Regions from separate parts of the Homo sapiens genome. Here regions 2 and 3 are each linked to region 1. The links are contacts of gene promoters, found by promoter capture Hi-C in blood cells and fetal thymus (Javierre and others, 2016). All regions are on one chromosome and are shown on one strand. Each heading gives the region's core, a stretch centred on a gene start or on the middle of the fragment in contact. The rest is flanking DNA. Distances are from core to core; before and after follow the strand shown. Region 1 holds the start of KIAA2012. Region 2 overlaps CDK15 (cyclin dependent kinase 15). Region 3 overlaps CDK15 (cyclin dependent kinase 15).

The links. Contacts are between HindIII fragments. The CHiCAGO score rates a contact against its expected background, and 5 or more counts as called.
Region 2: a fragment that was not itself captured here is called in contact with the fragment with the promoter of KIAA2012 in region 1 in 2 of 17 cell types (M2 macrophages and M0 macrophages); the score reaches 5.2 in M2 macrophages.
Region 3: a contact is called between a fragment that was not itself captured here and the fragment with the promoter of KIAA2012 in region 1, in 1 of 17 cell types (endothelial precursors). The highest score is 7.0, in endothelial precursors.

The regions. Positions count from the first base shown.
Region 1 is chr2:202,071,739-202,075,774 of GRCh38, forward strand. It overlaps KIAA2012, which reads left to right and starts at 1,517. Exons shown (of 24, transcript NM_001277372.4): 1 at 1,517-1,973; 2 at 3,153-3,437. The coding sequence starts at 1,890. The HindIII fragment of the contact is 5,257 bases long and covers 1-3,621 here.
Region 2 is chr2:201,851,513-201,855,368 of GRCh38, forward strand. CDK15 (cyclin dependent kinase 15) reads left to right here. Exons shown (of 14, transcript NM_001366386.2): 10 at 3,362-3,425. Among named protein-coding and RNA genes, the nearest start is that of CDK15, 47 kb to the left of the region's middle. The HindIII fragment of the contact is 528 bases long and covers 1,344-1,871 here.
Region 3 is chr2:201,827,978-201,831,628 of GRCh38, forward strand. All of the region lies in intron 6 of CDK15 (cyclin dependent kinase 15), which reads left to right. Among named protein-coding and RNA genes, the nearest start is that of CDK15, 23 kb to the left of the region's middle. The HindIII fragment of the contact is 2,341 bases long and covers 1,161-3,501 here.

The DNA of each region.
Region 1 (4,036 bases), core at 267-2,766:
GGCCTCCCAAAGTGCTGGGATTACAGGCATGAGCCATGGTGACCAACTGAATTTCCTTCCTTCTTAAGGCTGAATAATACTGCATTGTATGCATATGCTACATTTTGTTGATTCATTCATCTGTCGATGGACACTTGAGTTACTTCCACCTTTTGGCTCTTATAAACAGTTTTGCTCTGCATATGAGTATACAAATATCTCTTTGAGACCCTGCTTTCACCTCCTTTAGGTATACAGACCCAGAAGTGGAATTACTGGTGATACGGTAATTCTGTTTAATTTTCTTAGAAACTGTCATACCATTTCCTACAGAGGCTGCGCCATTTTGCATTTCCAACAGCAATGCACAAGGTTTTCAATTTCTCCGTATCTTCACCAAATACTTGTTATTTTCTGTTTTTGTTTTTGTTTTTTAATAATAGCCATCTTAGTAGGTGTGAAGTGGTATCTCATTGTGGTTTTGATTAAATTCTGTTTGGAGCCTCTGCATTCACTCATTCGCTGTCTTGATTCCCCCTAATAAACCCTATTTTATTTTACAACAGAACCTCTATTTCTTTCTCAGGAGACTTGAACTTGGTTGGGGGTGGAGGGGTCAGAGGGGGAGGGGAAAGTGCCACATAGGAAGATCAAAAAGGTAAGTGGGCTTGTAGCCTGTTGTGCTTCTTCATATAGGCCAGCAGTGGGCACTCCCACAAGACTGCCAGGGTAGTTCAGCTGACAGCTAACAGGCAGCTTGCTTTTCCAGGCTTGAGCAGGTTCCTAGATCCCCAGCAAAGGGGTCTTTTTGTTTCCTGACCCTCTTCCCTCCTGTCTGTGCTCGTCACAATGTCACTGTTAAAGAGACCCAAGCATCCCAGGCTACACAGTGCTTCTCAAAGCAGGTGCTCCTGGCATTCTAGTGGGACAGTTCATCACTATGTGGGAATTTCACACCATGTAGAACATTTAGCATCTGGGGCCTCTGCTTGATCAATGCCAGCAAGACCCCCAATCATTGCAACAACCAAAATGTCCCCCACCCACATTTCCAGAGCACCCCCATCAGGGGATAGCTTGCCCAGTTGAGAACCAGGTATGCAAAGGAAGCTAGAGAATCCCAGTGTCTCCCGCTCAGGCAAAGCAGCAACTACCATAATGAGGTCTCGTGTCCAGTTGAGGGGATGATGGAGCTCAGCCAAGGAAAAAGTCACAGGTGGTTTTAGGTGACCTAGATTACACCCTGGCTCTGTTAATGGTTAGTTGACAGTGACAGGCTCACATATCAGGAGAGAGGGGAAGACGCTCTCTAAAAACAAGATGAGAACAATAACAGAAAAAGTACCCCAACAAGTCCCCCACCCCATGCAACTGGGACTTGCAACCTGAGCCTGGTCCCTTCAGTGTCCATTTGACCCCCACCCCCATCCCCGGGGAATGCACACTGCACCCGGCACCCGTCTCTGCCTTGCCTGGGTTAGTTTAAGGGACTTCATTTCCCTGTGCTGCCATAGCAACCAGGAAACAACCTCCGCTCAGACAAGAAGGATGGTGCTGTGGCCGAGATCTGTAGATGCACACGGCTGGTAACAGAGCAACCGGGACCAAGGGACAACAAGAGCTCAGGAGAAGGGGAGAGACAGGTCGCCCAGAGAGTAGACAATCCAGGGCTTGAGGAGGCTGGCTGTGCGGTTTATTTTTTCTCTCCACAAAGACACACACTGTCTAAACTGTGTGGCTGGTTGTTACTAAGAAGCTGCTGCGAGAGGGAAAAATGTATTTAATAAAAGGCCCTGTGTTTGTGGTCTTCTTGGGCTTGCTGTGAGCTCTGGAAATCTTGAGGTGTGACCAGATTTCAGCCTTCAAAACCAAGATGGACTGCCCTTGAGAAGGGGTGGTCAGAGGGAAACATGTTCACGCTCTCCCTCCTGAGCCGGGGCCACGGGAAGCTGGGCCAGGACAAACAGAAGTTAGAAGTCTACTTTGAACCAGAGGTGAGTCCCACAGCTGAAGAAAGGCACATTTTGGAGGTGGGAGAGGAATGCTCTATGTTTCCACTTGGGAGGTAAACCATGTGTGTCTTGGTTTGTGTTGTTAGTGAGGTGGCGGGGTCACTGGAAGATCTTCCTTCCTCCTTCATGAAACTCAAGAAAATAACATCATTTTCCTGACACACCGAGATTGCCCCTGAGGCCCTCATCTTTCCCCTTGTAGCTGTCTTTGCTTGGACCAAAGGAGATTCCAGATTGTCTGGAATTTGGATGGTTTGGTGCAAGACCAGAATTTCCACCTGGGTTCTAGGCAAACTGATGGTTGTTTGGTTTTTGGAAGTCGTGCTCTGCAGTTGAAATGCTGTGTGTGTTCATGCCATTTCAATGGCTTCCTTGAACTTTCTGGAATTCAACCCACAGGACTCATATTTAATATAGGCCAAAAAAAAACCCACCTCATTTTAGAAGATTTTAAAGAGGTGGCAAAATTCCCTTGTTATACTAGATTTTTATTTCACTTGAATCCTGCCAGGGATAAGAAACCTATTGGGGATACTTTGCAAATTTGGGGGTCATACAGAGATTTCCATTGTCATGGTACTTTGTCATGATATTTGACCTTTGCTGTGTTAAACGGCATATAAAGTTTCAAAGGACCTGTATGGCCAATGGCATTTTCTTACCTACAAGATATGTAACTGCTTTATAGGCCCCTAAATAGCCAAATTAGGTAATGTTACATAGCATCTGGAATGTATAGAAATTCTCCCCACGTACAGCTGAAGTGGTGGTGGCTTGGAATGCTCCTATTTAAACTGCCAGCTAGTCCAGGTCTAATTTCAAAGTTATCTGCTGCCCTTAATAATTCTGACCACTTACTTGCATACCAGGAAACTTTAACTGGCCTGTAACCTACATACAAGCTGAGTTAATCCTCCAGCCATACATGACTCTCCTGAAAGTTGTATGGGGTGAAATAGAACCATGCCCTGGGTTCTACTAATTTTGAAATGTGGAGAGAAAAGGCAGTTGCTAAGAAGAGCAATTGTGTTCCATAACACCATGTGAACAGTTCAGAGAAAATCAGTAACTAAAAAAATGCCGAAGGCTTTGCACAAGCAGTATTTGCTATAGAAAGGTCTTCCACAGTGGCTCCGTCAAAGTGGCTGCTTCTCATTGCAGGATTACTTGAACTGGAGGTCCCCAGAAGACTATGTTCCTGTCAGCAAACCTCAAGATAAGAACAATGCCAGTCAGCACTCCTGGAGCCTCTTTCTCCCTAAAACTTTCAGTACTAGAAAGGGTGCCCTGATCCTGTACTCAGAAGGTTTTGCCATTTCGGCATGGACACCCAAAGAGAGGAGAAAAGGCCCCTACTGCCCCAGAGGTCCCTGGAGGAAGCTGGATCTTGAACTGCACACACTTCAAGACCTCAAAGAAGCCATCCTGGCATATGGAAGGCAGCAGGTAGGCAGAACGCTCCCTTGGGTTTGGGGAAGGTGCTGGTAGCATGTCTAGAAACCCAGTTGCAGCTTTGGGAATAATTTCTTGGACCCGGGGAAGGTATGAAACTCTCAGAACTCTATTTCTTCATCTCTAAAATGAGATTGACTGTACTCTTAGCCCTATCTGCTGCACACCATTGTCACAAAGCTTAAATGAGATAATGTATGTGAAAGGGATCTGAAAACCATAAAGGGCTACATTATCATCATTTTATGTTTTCCTTTCAGTTAGAGTAACACAAAGTCCTTTTCAGCATTCAGACAGATTCAGGCCAGCAGACGTTTCATCAGGATCCTTGAAATCCTGTCTCATAGCCACAAGCATCATCATCCCACCTCTGATGTTCTTGGCTCTGTGGAAATGAGAGGGAGAACATTTTAAATATTTACCTTGAGCCCTTCAGCGTCTGCAGGATAAGTTAATGACTTTTTCCATCCTGAATACAATATTAAGGGAAAACACCTGTGTTCATTTTTCTGATTCATACTTCCTAATGTCTTGTGAGATGTGCATCTGGCCCCTGCTTTATATAATTGCATGCATCAGCCCTTTGGCTGAGG
Region 2 (3,856 bases), core at 358-2,857, 220 kb before region 1:
TTTATAAGGGCATTCATCTCTGTCCTTGTGTCCTAATCACACGCTAAAGGTGGCTAAAGGCCCCACCTCTTAATACTGTTGCATTGGGGATAAAGTTTCAACATGAATTATGAAGAGAATACAAACATTTAAACCACAACAAGTCCTTTGCCCACTTTTTTTTTGGAGACCGAGTCTCACTCTGTTGCCCAGGCTGGAATGCAGTGGCTTGATCCTGGCTCATTGCAACCTCCACCTCCTGGGTTCAAGCAATTCTCCTGCCTCAGCTTCCCAAGTAGCTGGGATTACAGGTGTGCACTACCACACCCAGCTAATTTTGTATATTTAGTAGAGACAGGGTTTTACCATGTTAGCCAGGCTGATCTCGAACTCTCGACTTCTGGTGATCCACCTGCCTCAGCCTCCCAAAGTGCTGAGATTACAGGCGTGAGCCACCGTGCCCGGCCCTTTGCCCACTGTTTAATGGGGTTGTCTTCTTGCTATTGAGTTCCTTATATATTTTTGATATTAACCCCTTATCAAATGTATGGCTTGCAAATATTTTCTCCCATCGTAGGTTGTCTCTTCACTCTAATGATTGTTTCCTTTGCTCTGAAGACACTTTTTAGTTTTATTTATTCCCATTTGTCTATTTTCACATTTGTTGCCTATAAGCAGGTTAGAAAATTATACAGATTATAAATAGTTCCTGAATTTGTGTTTTACTAAACGTAGCCTACACAGATGAAAACAGGAAAGCTACACTTCAGAATCTGTGATATTTGATGTCAGAAGTGCATCCCTGAAAGCAATGGGTCCATTCTAAATCTCCTAACCTCTAACCATAATTTGTTCTATATTTATCCTGAGATCTCACTCTTAGGAATAAAAACACATTGAGAAGTCCTGAGTCTCTATTTTACTATTTTTCTGAAGTGCCTGTAGTGTGTGTGTTTACATCTAAATAATAGCTGTCACCACTTTCTGATCAATTTTAAAAACTAATTTTAAATAAGTGTTTTTCATAAATAATCCTGGATTTAGTTCTAAAATCAGAATAAACTATGCAAACTTTGAATCCATTAATCAAAATGCTTTTAGTTTCCATTCCAACAAAGGCAGATAAACAGCCCCTTCAGACCACTGTGGTTTGAAACATAGCACTCACTGGCTGCCTTTTAAGAGCCTTCAGGGAGGGAGCAAAACAACAATTTTTGGTTTTCAGTTTCCCAGACAGTGAAGGAGAGATTTAGTAATTTTCTCAAGTGAAAAAGAATTCAATAACTTGCAAATAGAAACTGAGATCAAATTTCCAAATAAAGTATATTGAATTTTTGTTTAAACTTTTAAAATCTCAAGCTTAAAGCTTTGAACATAAGATTAAAAAAACTTTTTTTAGTATCCATTTTGTTGGCTTTAGTTAAATATCATACAAAGTAACCAACCATCTGGTAACTTTCACCTTAGAGAAAACATGATAGTGGTTGTCACCTATTTCTTCTATTGTTTTCTCTTCATTATCTTTGCTTTCTTTTCACTGCACTTTGCCAGCCAACAGAGGATGTATGGGTACATGTGACTCACACCCACTTGTTTACACATGCATCTGTGCAAATACATAAGATGGTAGGTTAAAAAAAGAAGAATTAGTTTCTTGTCCCCTGGCCTTCTCCCACAAAAGAAGAATTAGTCCAGTTGGTTTTTCAAAATGGATTCCAGGATTCTTAGTGTTCCCTCGGGCTCAGGGTGGTTGATAGGAAAAGCCTATAATCCTCTCAGTCACTTTTCAGTTTGTTTAGGGAATGGATCAAAGAAGGAAGATTTTACTGGGTGGCATGATTTTTTTATTATATGAGGGAAAATAGCACTTCACTGTCTTTTGTTTAAAGACAAGCTTAACAGATGCTAAAAAGTACATCTCTCAGCCAGATTCCTAGTCAACAAGCTGATAGACACTAAGATTCTGGATTCTTCATTGATTATATTCAGTCATTGTTGGGCAATTGACTCCCTGCCATAATAATTGGGCCAGTATCTATAACCAGCATTTTACAGATGGATTCGCTAGACTCTTTCTGTAAGAGATGTTTCTAAAAAGAGTTATAGTGAGATATGCTTCTAAGAAAAGTTATACTGTAGTAGTGTAATGAAAGCTACTAGTGTTTTATTAGTATTTCACAAGAACAATGTTACTCTGTCTCCCATATATAACTGTCTATGGGCTTTTATGATTATTCTTTAAAAAAAAAAAAATACTAAGGTAATGCCTACCGGGGAACTCATGGTGCTGGCTTCATCCAAAGTCTGAGCTGTTTTGGCTTTATACTCCGAAAGACTTTATTTTCATACATCTTAACTAAAAACTGGGGCTTTAAATTGGTCATTCAAGGCCAGGCGCGGTTGCTCATGCCTGAAATCCCAGCACTTTGGGAGGCCGAGGTGGGCAGATCACGAGGTCAGGAGATTGAGACCATCCTGGCCAACACGGTGAAACCCCGTCTCTACTAAAAATACAACAACAACAACAACAAAAATAGCCAGGCGTGGTGGCTTGCATCTGTAATCCCAGCTACTCAGGAGGCTGAGGCAGGAGAATGGTGTGAACCTGGGAGGCAGAGCTTGCAGTGAGCCGAGATCGCATCACTGCACTCCAGCCTGGGCGACAGAGCGAGACTCCGTCTCAAAAAAAAAAAACATCGGTAATTCAAAGCATAGACCAGCCCTTTTTCAAGTGATGTTGTTCCCATGACAATCCATCAGTGAAAAACCAAATACCATATTCCAAGCTGCTAGTCACAGAGAAAACAAGCAGATGAGATGAATGTAATAGAAAAGACTAGAGTTAGTTTTGGGGTCATCTTTAGCCAACATTCCATTGCCTGAAGCTCAGTAATCTGAATCCTTTTTAATTTGAGCACATCAGGGAACAGCTGAATACCCATGCTGAGGCATAATTTAAGCTGTCAAGTGTCTCCTGTCAATATACATGTGGTCATCTGATGCAAGGCAAAGAGACAGTCACTCCTGCTTCTTTATATCCCTAGCTCCCAACATGGTGTCCTAATGCATGATAATCATGCAGTAAATGTTCAGTGATGAGAACATGACTTTGAGCAAGGCTGTATGATCTGCCTCAGAACAAGTGAGTCAGTAAGAATGCAGGCCCCGGACCATAGGAATGTATTACAGTTTTGCCCAAGAAACCACAAACGTTGGAAACACTCAAGTTTCTTTCTCGTATACATCAGCTGGTGTCATGCAATGGGACATACATCTGACGCTTCCCTGTTCTTCCCTGATTTGTCCTGCATGTCTCCATACCTCTTCCATCCACCTCATCTCCCCACCTCACCTTTCTTTTTCTTTGTTTGGCTTTATATAGGTGCTGGGAGTCCCTACAGAGGATACTTGGCCGGGAGTCTCCAAGCTACCTAACTACAATCCAGGTAATATTGATCTGAGCTTCTGAATACTCTGAGAATTAGTAATGTAAGGAGAGCATTGGCCACGCTAACAGGGCGTTCTTGTATTGTGAACTCAGCGGCAAAGATGGGTGTAGAGGAATTTCTACATTCATATATTCCCTGACTAATCTTTGTATGAGGAAGACACTGAAAGAGTAGCTGAGGTTAGACCAGTTCCCCAGCTCTGTAAAACACAAGTAGCAAGCTGAATAGAATTTGAAATGACTATTACTGTGGATTCCACATCCATTGTCAAATACCCAATGGCTCAAAAGAACAACTCAAAAGATGGGCTCACTTTTGGGCCCCCTGACTGTCATAAGTGTATTGATTAGTATTGAATTGCATATGTATAAAAAGAAAGCTAATGCAACAGAACAGAGGTAGAGGCTCGCTAGGCCTAGGACATGCCA
Region 3 (3,651 bases), core at 1,081-3,580, 240 kb before region 1:
AAGAATGGAGAGGAATGTGAAAATCAGTAACAAAGAAGAGTTCACCTCTTGGTAATGTGAGCATGAGGAGGAAAAGGATGGGGCCAAACATAACTGGTTTTGTGTTTGACTGACGAGGAGAATTGTAGCTCTATTAACAGAAATAGGAGAAGAAGTTGGTTTGGAGAGAAAGAGGAGTCCTGTTTCAGACGTGTTGAGGTCCCAGGTGAGACAGGATCTCCAAAGGGAAATGAGCAGTAGGCAACCTAAAAGGAAATCTGTGCTCAGAAGGGAGCTGTGAGCTCGACGTGTAGATCTGAGGGTCATCAGCACATAGAGTTTAGAAGACAAGGAGTAGGCAACCAAAAGAGCAAATACACAAAGAGAGGAGGACTGATGATGAGACTTTTGCCTTTTAGGATGAGAAGAGGAACAGGAAATGAAGGAATGAAGGGAAGCAGCTTGTAGGAATGTAGAGCATCTGAAAAAAAAATACACACTGTCATGGAAGTCAAGGGAAGAAGAATTTCAAGAAGGAGGGTATGGTGGACAGTATTACAAGCATCAGGAATACAGCTAAAAGTCATACTCTTGATGCATTGACCTTGTGGATTTGTGAGGGACACACTAATAAATAAAGGAATTTATTGTGGGTATATGGAGGCACAAAGGAAGAGGTTATCCAAATCAAAGCAGGTGGGAGTAGGGATGAGTTCTCCAAGGTGGAGGCATCAGTGAATGTGGGAAGGGGCACAGAGCATCCATGCCCATCCCAGGCAAGCCACCCTCCAGAAGCCTCCATGAGAGTTCAGCTATCCAGAAGGTCTCTGTACCCTAATCTTTCTGGGTTTTGCATAGGCTTCATTGTGTAGGCATGATTTATTAAACTATTGGCCACTGGTGATCAACTTAACCTTCAACCCCTCTCCCCTCCCTAATCATGCCTTGGTCTTTCCAGTGACCAGTCCCTATCCTAAGCTACCCAATGGTCTGCCAGCTATCAGTCAACTCTACAAAAAGACATCACTTTGGAGATTCTAAGGATTTTAGGAGTTGGCTGTCAGGAATTTAGTTGAAGATCAAATATATATTTCACAATATCACAGTCGTGCTATTTTATATCAGGCGCCATTAAATGGTTTTAAACAAAGAGGTGATAAATTCAGATTTTCTTTTTATAAAGCTTACACTGATGACAGTGTGGTGAATAGATTGGGATGAGGGCAATACTTTTTTTTTGAAATGTTATATTCCCCTGACCCTACTTTCTCCTTGTTTTCTTCTACCTCTCTCCCCCTACTCACACAGAAAACTTCTCTCCCTCTACTCATTCCCTGAATGCTGGTGTCTGTTAAGGTTCCAGCCTTGACAGTGAGGCTAATCAGAACCACAGTGGTACAGATGTGAGATGATGGTGGGAGAAAGTGGACAGATATGAGACCAATTACTTAGCCGGAACTGACGGGAAAAACAAGAGTCAGCGATATTTTTTTCTGGATCTGAGTATTAAAATGGATGATGGTGCCATTCACTGTGATAGAGAATCAGAAAGAAAAATTTATTTTGGAGAGATACCATGAATTGTGTTTTAGACATGCTAAGTTTGAGGTGATTATGGGATGTACAGGCGAGCTCCAGACTGTGTGGGCCTAAAGTAGAAAGGCAATCTGAGTTGGAGATAAAGATTTTGAAATCATCAGAATACGGTTGTTCATTAGAGCACTGTCAGTGGGTAAGATAGCTAAGGGAGCATGTGTAGAGTGATAACAGAAGATCAAAGACGGAACCCTAAGAATAACAATAAGTTATTATTTATTATTTTATTATGTTTTATTTTTTAATTTTATTTTTATTTATTTATTTATTTTTAGATGGGAGTCTCGCTCTGCTGCCCAGGCTGGAGTGCAGTGGCGCAAACTCAGCTCACTGCAACCTCCGCTTCCTGGGTTCAAGGGAGCCTCCTGCCTCAGCCTCTCAAGTAGCTGGGACTACAGGCACCCACCACCTCACCTGACTAATTTTTGTATTTTTAGTAGAGACGGGGTTTCACCATGTTGGCCAGGCTGGTCTTGAACTTCTGACCTTGAGTGATTCACCTGCCTTGGCCTTCCAAAGTGCTGGGATTACAGGTATGAGCCACTGTGCCTGGCCTATTTTTGTTTTTTATAGAGATGGGGTCTTGCTATGTTGCCCAGGCTGGTCTCGAACTCCTGGACTCAAGCAATCCTCCTGCCTTGGCCTCCCAAAGTTCTGGGATTACACGTGTGAGTCCCTGCGCCTGGCCAGAATATCAATATATTAGATTTTAGTAGAAGTAGAACCTATAAAAAGAACAGCCAGAGGGGCAGAAGAAAAATTAGGAGATTGTGGAACCAAAAGAAGAGAGTGCCTCAGGAAGGAAGGCATGGTCTATGATGCCAAATGCTGCAAAGATAAGGAATAAGAAGTATCCATTGGATTTCATAGGAAAAGTCATGGGAAACCATGGTAAAAAAACATTGTGAATGACACAATCGTTGCAAAAGCATTTTTATAGGGGGATGAATTTTGTATTTCAGAGGACAAACAGTTCCATACAATGGCAAGATCTAGTGTGTGACCACGGGAGTTAGTGTCTGAAGTGGATTGGAGAAGCAGATCATTGGAGCTGAGGTTGGCTAGAGCTGTTCTCATGGGCACTAATGTCATGGAGTCAACAGCTGTGATCCAAGTGCCCACATCTTCAGTGAATGACAGAGAGGGATTGAGAGTTCAGTGAATGACCGCTAAAAGAAGAGTAATGGAAGATGTGGCTGGATGGCATTAAAATCCAAGGGACAGGGGTTTTTACTTAAAAGTAGAGAAGTAATGGTTTTGAAGTGGTAGTGGGGAAAAGGGAGGCAGCTTATGACACTTGTCAGTGGTCAAAGGTATGAGGAAGTTATAGAAAAACTAACATCCACTTGAGAATATTATAGGGAAGCAGTGAGCTCAAGGTCTCATTTAAGGAAAGGAGCCAAAAGGAAATTCACCAGAGGTTAGCTTTTAGGTAGTTTTTAAAGCAGGATTGAAGAATGGAGACTAAACAGTGAAAATGTTTGGGAGAGAGAGGAGCAATAGATATGAAGCTAAACAGAGGAAGCACAGAACAGAATGGAGATGAGTATGTTGGGAGGAAAAGGAATAGTCAGAGGCTTATATTTTGAGTTGTGACCAAGGAAGACAGGGTGGGAATCCTCGTGAGGTTATCTTGTTTCAGATTTCTAGTAGAATGAGTCCCAGGGATTCCAGGGGGGATGGAAGGACTCAGGCTTCCCTATAAGGAGTTGGCTAACGGATCTCATTGGTTTTTGAGTAACTCCTGGCCCAGATGGCACTAGTTCAATGGAATTATTTTGTTCCCCCAAAACTTATTGAGTTGGAAACAGGTCTAACTCCTGGGATCTGGGAAGCCTTTCTGGAAAGAGTCACCCACGATCTGGCTGATGTTGAACTGTGCAGACACCATCATATTTGGTTATGTTAGGATGCAATAATTGGTGAAGCTTCTGTAGTGTTGAATGAAGAATCCAGGTTGGAAGGGATGAAAGGGTGAGTGGGTGATGAGGTTTGTCAGCACAGACTGCAATTTTGAGAAATGTGGTTATAAAATACCATACCTTAATACCGCAGTGCTTTACCACTCACAAATGC